Regions from separate parts of the Homo sapiens genome. Here region 1 is linked to region 2. Evidence: promoter capture Hi-C in 16 types of primary human blood cells and fetal thymus (Javierre and others, 2016). All regions are on one chromosome and are shown on one strand. Each heading gives the region's core, a stretch centred on a gene start or on the middle of the fragment in contact. The rest is flanking DNA. Distances are from core to core; before and after follow the strand shown. Region 1 overlaps P2RX3 (purinergic receptor P2X 3). Region 2 holds the start of BTBD18 (BTB domain containing 18).

Region 1 (5,417 bases), core at 1,726-4,225, 400 kb before region 2:
TAGGCCTAGTCGTGGGTCAAGGATGCCTTCAACGGTTGAAACCCTTTCGGTCTCGTCCCATTCTTTTTCCCCACATCTAGCCCATGTGTGGAAATCCCTTTTCTCTTAGTCAGTTCAGCCCCCCTTCATTGACTTACTCATTCCACAGCTACTCAGTGGGCATTGGCCATGTGCAGAGGGCAATGCCAGTCACTACAGAAGTGCACTAGGCCAGGCGCAGTGACAAATGCCTGTAATCCCTGCACTTTGGGAGGCCGAGAAGGGTGGATCACGAGGTCAGGAGTTTGCGACCAGCCTGGCCAACATGGTGAAACCCTGTCTGTACCAAAAAAAAAAAAAAAAAATTAGCCAGGCGCCGTGGCACACCCCTGTAATCCCAGCTACTTGGGAGACTGAGGCAGGAGAATCGCTTGAACCTGGGAGGCAGAGGTTGCAGTGAGCCGAGATCATGCCACCGCGCTCCAGCCTGGGCAACAGACCGAGACTCCGTCTCAAAAAAAAAAAAATGCACAGAGTAACCAAGAATGATTCCTGCCCTCTCGAACTCCCAGCCTGGCAGCTGGAGATTAGTCACCGACATACATCACCCTGATACACAGGGAAGGCGGTGATGGGGCACCAGAAAGATGCAGGGAAAGGAAAGAGGGGAGGGAGATGGCGAGGTCCAGATGAAGGCTGAGGGCTCAGATCCCCCCTAGGCCTGGGCTCCGGAAGGCGGGGAGAGATTGCACAAGACGATCTTCCCATGAACCCTGGGCTGACCTCTCTCTCTGCTCCTCCCCAGGGGAAACCTCCTTCCCAACCTGACAGCCAGGGACATGAAGACCTGCCGCTTCCACCCGGACAAGGACCCTTTCTGCCCCATCTTGCGGGTAGGGGACGTGGTCAAGTTTGCGGGGCAGGATTTTGCCAAACTGGCGCGCACGGTGAGGACCTAGCCATTCTTCCGCGACCCCAAACTCCCCACCTTCAGCCCTTTCCCAGATTTCAGGGCCCTTTGGCCGGCACTGGCCAGGAGCCGCCGCGAGACAGCGCCACCTGGTGGAAGCATCCCAGGCCGCCACTGGCTTTGTGCCTGAATCCTTTCTGCTTTCCCCGCGCAGAGCGATCTTGCCCCCCGCCTCCGCCGAGTCCACCTTCCTCAAGCCTCAGTTTCCCACTCCCATCTTCACACTTCACCTCAGGCAAAGGCCTTAGATCTGTAATAAGCCCCAAACGACGGGAAAGTAGACCTGTGGCCACTTTCTCCTGTGTTGTAGCTAAAGCACTGAAGATCCCAAAATTAGGACTCAGAGGCTCCAATGTTCGCATCCGAGCCACAACCTTTTTTTTTTTTTTTTTTTTTGAGACAGAGTCTCGATCTGTCTCCCAGGCTAGAGTGCATGGCGCGATTTCGGCTCACTGCAACCTCCGCCTCCCAGGTTCACGCCATTCTCCTGCCTCAGCTTCCGGAGTAGCTGGGACCAAGCCCGGCTAATTTTTGGTATTTTTAGTAGAGTCAGGGGTTCGCCGTGTTAGCCAGGATGGTCTCGATCTCCTGACCTCGTGATCCGCCCGCCTCGGCCTCCCAAAGTGCTGGGATTACAGGCGTGAATCACCGCACCCGGCCACCACAGCACTTCTTTACTGAGCAGTATATGACATGTCACTTTCCGTTCTCCCTGCCTCCGTCTCCCACCTGGAGGATGGGAGGAAATCATTTGTCACCACCTCCACCCCACCCCCACCCTGGCCCAGAGCAGGGAGTCAGAGGGCGAGGGGAAAGCTCATACCCGGCCCGTTTCTTCAGGGGGGAGTTCTGGGCATTAAGATCGGCTGGGTGTGCGACTTGGACAAGGCCTGGGACCAGTGCATCCCCAAATACTCCTTCACCCGGCTCGACAGCGTTTCTGAGAAAAGCAGCGTGTCCCCAGGCTACAACTTCAGGTAATTCCCTGTCTCCTGGGACACCAGGAGAAGAAGGTGCGGGCTGTTAACGGCAATGTTTATTGGGGAGACAAGATCCCACATCCATCCACCCACCCCTGGCCCCAAGTCCCACCTCAGGTTTCATTTCAAATCAGGAAGGACTCTCTAACAGCCATTAGGATCTAGCTGGTTGTCCTGGGAGACAGTGTCTCCTTATCACTGAAGGGGACCACGCCAAGGATTCCTGCTGCAGGTCAGTAGTTAGAAGAGAGGGCCAAGGTCTCTTGAAATGCTAGGGTTCTGCGATTCTTTGCCTGTTCCTAACACTGGCCTGAAACTGTGACGTGCTTAAGTGACTTCCAGATAGGCCCATTCCCTGCCCTGGGCCTGAATTTTCTAAGGTTTCTCGCTCTACAAAGTAAGGGTGATAACTGGTATCATTTTACATTTTACAAGATGGCAACTTTGCATTTCTCTCCGCAAACGTGTGTCACCAGTAGCAATTATAATTGTCTCTGGTTCTTCAATGCCTCTCCAAACAAGAACTCAGACCAGTCTTTAAATATCATCCCAATGGCTTTGAGACTTCAGGGATCTTTTCGGGTTTTGTTTTGTTTTGTTTTTCCATTTTGAAGAAAGGGAGAGAGGAATTAGAGGACAAACTGTTTGGAAGCAACTGAAAGCGCTTGAACAAGCCATTTGTCTTCTCCCATCCTAATTTCCCCACCTATGAAATTGTGATAGTACCACTGTGATCTTCAGGATTCAATTAACCAATGTGTGAAAAGCTTCAGCTTTCTGTTTTGTTTCTCTCTTCTTTTTTTTCTGAATCATTCATTTATTGATTCATCCATTAAACACATACCAATTGTCTACTACGTGCTGAGGACCGTACTCAGTTATCTTAGGTTAGCAGTTCTCAAAGTGTAGACTACAAGGTCAACACTACTTATTAAAGGTTTTGTTTTCTTTTTAATTGATAAATAACAATTGCATATATATGGGATACAATGTGATGTTTTGATACATGTATACATTGTGGATTTCCCCCAGTTTTTGAAGATCCTGAAGTTTCTGGCAGGGCCCTGTTTAAGTACACAGCATTATACACTAAACAGCTTAAATAGAACAAATAGGGAGTGACCAGGGGAAAAAAATACATAAGAATATATTTCATTTACATTTGAACATAAGAATGTATATTTGAATATATTCAAATAAATGTTACTCAAATTTCCTTTGTTGAGGTGGTATTCTCTGATACAATGGCATACGTAAGCCAAAAATAATCATTTCACCTTTTAAAATTGTTAATTTATAACTTAAAAAAATAATCACCCACCCCATTAAGCTTTATATTTAATAGTTTAAAATATACATGTATATTCTCTGGAAAGAAGAATCTTTAAAAATTGAAGTACTTTCATCATCAACTCCAAACTTTAAAAAAACCATAGGAAACAACACATATTTTAAAGTAGGTTAAAAATACTGTGCGGCTCACTGGCAGAAATTGGCATATTTATTCAGTTGGTATATCACACTGAGATCAATACAAAGGATATTTGTATGGTGGCTTAAAATAGTAACATATTAATAAAATTCTCATGATCTAAAATGCAAGTTTTCATCTTCATAACTTCCCTTTGGCCATTGGGAATTCTTTAATCCTCCAAATAACTCATTTGGCAGAAAAGCTTATGAAGAATGTGAATATTATAAAGACCCCCAACTACTGATATCGTACAGTTTTAGAACAGCATCTCTCATCTAAATAAGAATTGGTCTGGAGTTCTTTATCTCCAATTTATTGCACTGTGGCTGCCTTCCCTCCCTCCCCACCTGAGCACAGAAGGATGCGGGATAGACCTGGTCCTAAATAAGCTTGGAGGGTATTTGGGGAGGCAGGACGGAATATCCCCAAAGACCCTGCCTGCATAATTCCCAGAGGCCTAAGAGAAACCACCCCCTCTTAGGATCTCAGATAATTGACTCCCCCAACAAAGTCCCCCAGGCCAGAGAAGAAGGAGGCAAAGCTGCTTAGTTTGACCCTTGTGATTTAAAAGTTTCCAGAGGGCCCAAGTAATAGCCCTGACATTGGGGGACATCTGATATCAGTGGCAAGCAGAGGGCTCTGCCCAAGCCCCTTCCCATCCCTTCACCTGGGTGCCCACCCACCACCCTCATGCAACCTCAAACTACTGGCACCCAAGGCTAAGCTAAGAGCCCACGTGTGGGAGGCTGCAAAGCTGTCTTTCTGAATGCTTGAATAAGAGAGAAAGGGTCACAAAGCCAGGTTCAGTGCGGGTCACAGTGCACTTTCTATGATATGGTAAGATGTACGCTGTTTTTTAGAATCTCACCAAGCTACTTATCAGTAGAAACCATACTAGTCACCCTGTGTGCAAAACGTTTTGTGTGCTTCAGCTCAGCATTCCTTGCATGCCCTACGAAGTAGATGCTACAATATCCCCCCCAACTTTATAAAGGAGAAGATGGAGTCTCACTGTTAAATAACATTCTCAAAGTCACAAAGCAAGCAAGAGGGGGAGCCTGGATTCAAAACATATTTCTTTGGATGATCTCCACCCCAGCCAGGAAGACTAGGGACATTTGTACTTGTTAATCCTCAGAAAAAAAAGCATGCCTATGTGGTTGACACTTTCATCCCAGCTTAAAAACAAAGAATCTAAGTTCCAAGGAGATTTCAAGACTAGCAGATGCTGGCAGCACAATTCATAGCCCGGCCTTTTGTCTCCCAAACAATTCATTTGCTGCTCCCTCCAACAGAGGCAGATTTTTCAACACCCCTACTGTTGCCATTTGCTCTGGAGGGAATGGAATTATTCAGCCAAGATTCGGCCGTGTTTGAATCTGCTAACTAAGACATCCAGAGGCAGCTAGAGATTCACATTTCCATCACTAATTACATTCGCAGCTCCCTTCCAAATGTCACTCCCCCCCCCCCGCCCCTATTTTTTGTAGCTCTTTGCCTGCAGAATCAGAGATTTTGAGAATTTATAGCTGTTGAAGTTCCCCTTGCAGTCACCCAGAGTAAGGCGGTCACTTTACAGATGAGGAAGCGGAAGTTCCAAAGGGGGCATCTTAGAGTAGCCTCAAAGGTCATTGGATCTCAACTCCTAATGTGACCCTTGTGATTTAAAGGAGTTTACGGACCCATGTAAGAGATTACAGGCCCATGTAATCACCCTGACACTGGGGGATATCTGATCTCCGTGGCAAGCAAAGTGGCCTGCTCCATTCATTGGAAAGGTGACCTCAAATTGAGCCAAAATGTGCCTCCCTTTAAATCCTCTCCAGTGTACTTGGTGCTGTCCATGCAAGTTAATCTTTATTTTTGTGATCCCCTAAAGATTCTGTTCTTCCCCTACCTGAAATTTAGTGGAGACATTTTATTTTTACTCCTTGGTCTGTTCTGCGTGGCTAAAGACTCCGTGGGCCGCTTTAACTTAGTATTTTTATGAAGCCTCTTTCTAAGCACACTGAGA
Region 2 (5,167 bases), core at 2,633-5,132:
CTACAAGCATATACCACCTCAGCCAGCTAATTGTTTGTATTTTTTAATAGAAACAGGGTTTTACCATATTGCCTAGGCTGGTCTCAAACTCCTGGGCTAAAACAATCTGTCTGCCTTGGCCTCCCAAAGTGCTGGGATTGCAACTGCACCCGGCTGTTTTTATTTTTTAGAGACAAGGTCTCAGTACATTGCCTAGGCTGGTCTTGAACTCCTTGCCTCAAGTGATCCTCCTTCCTTGGCCTCCCAAAGTGCTGAGATTATAGGCATGAGCAACTGTGCCCAGCCTCTAATTAAGTATCAGGTTTTTTTAAAGCTAATATTTGTTGAGTCATTATGTTCCATCAGGCATTGTTCTAAGTGTTTTACCAATATTAATTTATTTAATCTTCACTGTAACTCTGTAAAGTAGCTACTGTTATTATAAATGAGTAAACTGAGGCATAGTTAAGTAACATGCTTACAACTGCAAAGTAGCAGGGACAAGATTTGAATTCAAGGCCGGGCACAGTGGCTCAAACCTGTAATCCTAGCACTTTGGGAGACTGAGGCGGGAGGATCACTTGAGCACAAGAGTTTGAGACTAACCTGGGCAAAACAGTGAGACCTTGTCTCTAAAAAGAAAAAAAAGAAAAAAAAAAAAGAATTTGAGCCAGAAAGTCTGGCTACAGAGTCTATGCCCTTAACCACTTCAGCAACTTTTGTAAACTCTCTTTAATAGCTCATATTTTTATCTTCTCAATGCCTTAATTCAGGTCATCATCATCCCCTCTCTCCTGGATTATGAAACAGCTGCCTATCTAGGCTCAGTAACCAATAATGGCTGAATGTTGTTTCTAAACAACAAGCTGAATGTTGTTTCTAAAGCAGGTATTAGATTATAACCTCCTGCGTAAAACTGTTCAGTATGTCTCCCAGTGTCCTGAGATACCTACTTCCTTTGTATGACACTTCAGACCTCACATGTTTACTAATTTCTCTTTTCCTCTCTGGTCAATACATGTTTTATAGTCTGCTCTAATAATAACGAACAAACCCGTGGTCACATCTCTGAACCTGTATACGTGCTGCTGTCTGCCAGGAAAAATCCCTGCTTCCTCCCACTTGTTTGTCTTTCAGATCTCACCTAAGGGGTTATTCCAAGAAAAGTTCCCTAACCCTTGTCTCCCAGTCTCCTCAAGTCTGTGAAGGATGTTTCTTTTTTATCCTCCTAAGTCTGCCTATGACTTACCCAATTATATTTTTAATATATTGCACAGTTACTTGAATGCACTGGATTTTTGAATGTCTTCCCCTTATAAGATTTCCTTAAGAAGAGGAACTTTTGTATGACCACGGTAGCAGTGTTTAGCATACAACAGGCAACTGATACTTTTTTCTTTATTTGGAATTAAATAGTCAATCTCAACTCTGCACTTACTAAGAGAAGCAGCAGGCAAATCACTTAACTGTAGTCCTCAACTCATTCATATGTAGAATTGGAACCATATAGCTAAGGCTTCTCTTACAAGACTGTTAGAATCAGATGAGACATGGCCGGGTGTGTGGCTCACACCTGTAATCCCAGCACTTTGAGAGGCCAAGGCAGGTGGATCACCTGAGGTCAGGAGTTCAAGACCAGCCTGGCCAACATGGTGAAACCCGGTCTCTACTAAAAAATACAAAAATTAGCCAGGTGTGGTGGCATATCCCTGTAATCCCAGCTACTCAGGAGACTGAGGGAGGAGAATCGCTTGAACCCAGAAGGCGGAGACAGCAGTGAGCTGAGACCGCGCAATTGCACTTCAGCCTGGGCGACAGCGCAAGAATCTCAAAAAAAAAAAAAAAAAAAAAAAAAAAATCAAATGAGACACTATACTGTATGTAATCCACAAACTGTAGAGTGGTATACAATATTGGTTATCATAATTATTTTTTATAAATGAAGACATTGAGCCCCAGAGAGATGAAGTTACCTGCCCATTTCTTGGGCCTTTATATATCAGGATCTACTTAGTAACTCTGACTCCTAATCTTGGGCCTTGTACATTATATATCAGGGTCTACTTTATGCTGAATTAACATTTCCAGTGTGAAGTGAAGGGGTGGAAATAACCTATACATTTTTAGTTCTAGCAACAAACAACAAAAGTCATCAATTTGAAGATTAAATAAATTAAGCAGGCCGGGCAACGTGGCTCACGCCTGTAATCCCAGCACTTTGGGAGGCTGAGGCAGGTGAATCATGAGGTCAGGAGTTCGAGACCAGTCTGGCCAACATAGTGAAACCCCATCTCTACTAAAAATACAAAAAATTTTCCGGGTGTGGTGGCACGCACCTGTAGTCCCAGCTACTCGGGAGGCTGAGGCGGCAGAATCGCTTGAACGCGGGAGGTGGAGGTTGCAGTGAGCTGAGACCGTGCCATTGCACTCCAGCCTGGGAGACAGAGAGAGACTCTGTCTCAAAAACAAAACAACAACAAAAAAGAAAATGGGAAAAGGGTCGGACGTGGTGGCTCACGCCTATAATCCCAGCACTTTGGCAAGCCCAGGCGGGTGGATCACTTGAGGCCAGGAGTTTGAGACCAGCCTGGCCATCATGGCAAAACCTCATCTCTACTAAAAATACAAAAGTTAGCTGGGCGTAGTGGCGCATGCCTGTAATCTCAGCTACTTGAGAAAGCTAAGGCATGAGAATCACTTGAACCCAGGAGGTGGAGGTTGCAGGTAGCTGTGATTGTGCCACCACACTCCTGCCTGGGCAAGAGAGTGAGACTCTCAAAAAGAAAACATAATAGTATCATCTAACACATATTGTGGTTAGTATATTAAAAGCACTATTCTAAGTGCTTACCCACATTAACTCTTAATCTTCACAACCATCCCATTGGAATATTATCCATGTTATATAGAATGTATCTGCTTATAAAACTTTACAATTAGATTCATTATTTAAGAGAAAGAAGCAAAGTCACAATTTCACTCTTGAAAACAGTAGTAATTGTCCTAGAAACAAACAGCCCTTTACCAAATAGTTTACAGTGGTCATAGGCAGTAATATTTTGCTGATTTTGTCCTTTACCCTCTGGCTCTGAACTCATTTTATCTTATTCTATGGTGAGTTTTCAGTTGAATTCCGACCACTCTCTTACCTTCTGCCTGCAGAAGGACATCACAGAACACATCACTCTGCTGCTGGTGATGAAGCTGCAGAAAAGCTAACCTGAGGAACCGGGGGTTCCTGTATAGGATTTTGGGACTGGCAGGAGAGCACATGTTGGCAAGAGTCTTAACAAACCTTCTAGGTTTTCACAGATCAGACTCCTGTAGGTGAGATAATACATTTCAGAGGCATGGTTACATCTAATTTGTTTTTTGTCTTTGAAATGGCAGGGGAATTTTGAAAGTGAGAGATAATAGTATGAGTTGAGGAAACATCAGCCCAGAAATTGTGCCAAGGATATCTCAAGAAAGAAAATTATCATAGTGGTTACATGTGGGAGCTCAGAGATAAGCCTAGGTTTGGGTCTTGGCTCTATTTATTAGCCTGGCTGTATAATCTCACACAGGTGACCTAACTTCTCTGAGTCTCACTTTCCTATCCATGAAATAGAATAATAGTACTTACCTTGTAGGGTTGTTTTAAAGATTAAATGAGTCAGTGAAGGTAAAGTTGCTTAGCACAGTGAGTGCCTGGCACAAAATAACTACCAAGCCCCAAATGGTAACTATTATTATCCTTCAACCTTCCTCATTTCCATTACCACTGAGACTCAACTGCTACAATGCTGACTACTTATATTCTTCCTGAGCACCACATCCCAGCTCCACAGGTATAATCTTCAAGTTAACACTTTTAAGGAAACATTACTGGGTATAAAATTATCTCTAGTAAGTCGTATGCGCCTTTTCTCTGAGCTCACTGTATCACACTAACCAGCAGAGGGTGCACAATAAAGAAGAGAAGCCTCTGACTCTGCGGGAAGGTCTCTCACAGAACCAAGGACGTTGCCACCCTTGGCTGGGTGTACTTGACCAAAGCGAGCCTGACTGACCCTGGTAGTAGGCAAAGAATTTGGCCTTTACGTTTGTATAGTTAATTACCAGGCTAACAATGCAGCAAGGATAGTAAAGCATTTTACCCCTCCCAAAACAAACTGAGTATTCTGACTTCAGGCTTATGTCCAGCTTTTTAGCTCCGAAACCCCCCCACTCACTGCACAGCTGTGTTCCTTTCCTGGAATGCAGTTTTCTATCAGGTAGCACTGAGGGTCCGAACAGTTCACGTCAAAACTATCAGGAAAGAAGAATGAAAAGGTAAATTAAGAGAAGGCGGGCTTGGCTGGGCGGGGTGGCTCACGCCTGTAATCCCAGCACTTTGGGAGGCCGAGGCGGGTGGATCACCTGAGGTTAGGAGTTTGAGACCAGCCTGGCCAACATGGTGACTCCCCGTCTCTACAAAAATACGAAAATTAGCCGGGCATGGTGGCAGGCGCCTGTAATCTCAGCTACTCAGGAGGCTGAGGTGGGAGAATCGCTTGAACCTGGGAGGCAGAGGTTGTAGATAGAGCCACTGCACTCCAGCCTGGGCGACAGAGCGAGACTCCGTCTCAAAAAAAAAAAAAAAATTCCCATCCCAGTGAGAGAGATGTGGATGGAGGATGGCAGCTGTTGCAAGGGCCCTGGGGAAGCTTCTCAATCCACGATCGCCTGGCCTTGCCTCCAGACCCAACTTGAAATAGCTTTTCGGTAGACTTTGCTCCTGTTGCCTTCTCTGTGCTTGTCCTCTGTCCAGCCTGCCTTGCTTCCTCTCAATGTTCAGCGTTGAGTCAGGAGGCTGAGCAAAGATGCGCAGGTGGGCCAACGGCTGAGTGCTTCACCTCCCCATCCAGAAGCAAGGGAATCGGTGTTGGCGGAGAAAGCAGGGCTTCAGGGAGAGCCCTGCAAAGCGGGGTGGCCCGCACGCTTGGGCGCCCTGGCCCAACTCCTTTGAAGAAAGACTCCTAGGCGCGAGGGTTTCTGGGAATGGACCGTGGGGATCCGGGAGGCCCAAAGTCAGGACTTCCCGTCACGGCCACCTCCGCCAGCATAGACTTTGCAGGCAGCCCCTGGCGCCCTTGTATCCCTGCGGGCTTCAGCACCCACATGCACTGGGTGGTAGTGATAGCGAGGGTTGTAAGGCCACGCGGCC

The links. Contacts are between HindIII fragments. The CHiCAGO score rates a contact against its expected background, and 5 or more counts as called.
Region 1: a fragment that was not itself captured here is called in contact with the fragment with the promoter of BTBD18 in region 2 in 3 of 17 cell types (M0 macrophages, erythroblasts and M1 macrophages); the score reaches 6.1 in M0 macrophages.

The regions. Positions count from the first base shown.
Region 1 is chr11:57,348,973-57,354,389 of GRCh38, forward strand. It overlaps P2RX3 (purinergic receptor P2X 3), which reads left to right. Exons shown (of 12, transcript NM_002559.5): 7 at 785-926; 8 at 1,790-1,926. Among named protein-coding and RNA genes, the nearest start is that of P2RX3, 13 kb to the left of the region's middle. RefSeq lists an enhancer at 857-1,356. The HindIII fragment of the contact is 563 bases long and covers 2,695-3,257 here.
Region 2 is chr11:57,747,937-57,753,103 of GRCh38, forward strand. It overlaps BTBD18 (BTB domain containing 18), which reads right to left and starts at 3,883. Exons shown (of 3, transcript NM_001145101.3): 1 at 3,605-3,883; 2 at 3,129-3,300. The coding sequence starts at 3,252. The region is part of intron 2 of TMX2-CTNND1 (TMX2-CTNND1 readthrough (NMD candidate)); the gene reads left to right. The HindIII fragment of the contact is 11,151 bases long and covers 1-4,665 here.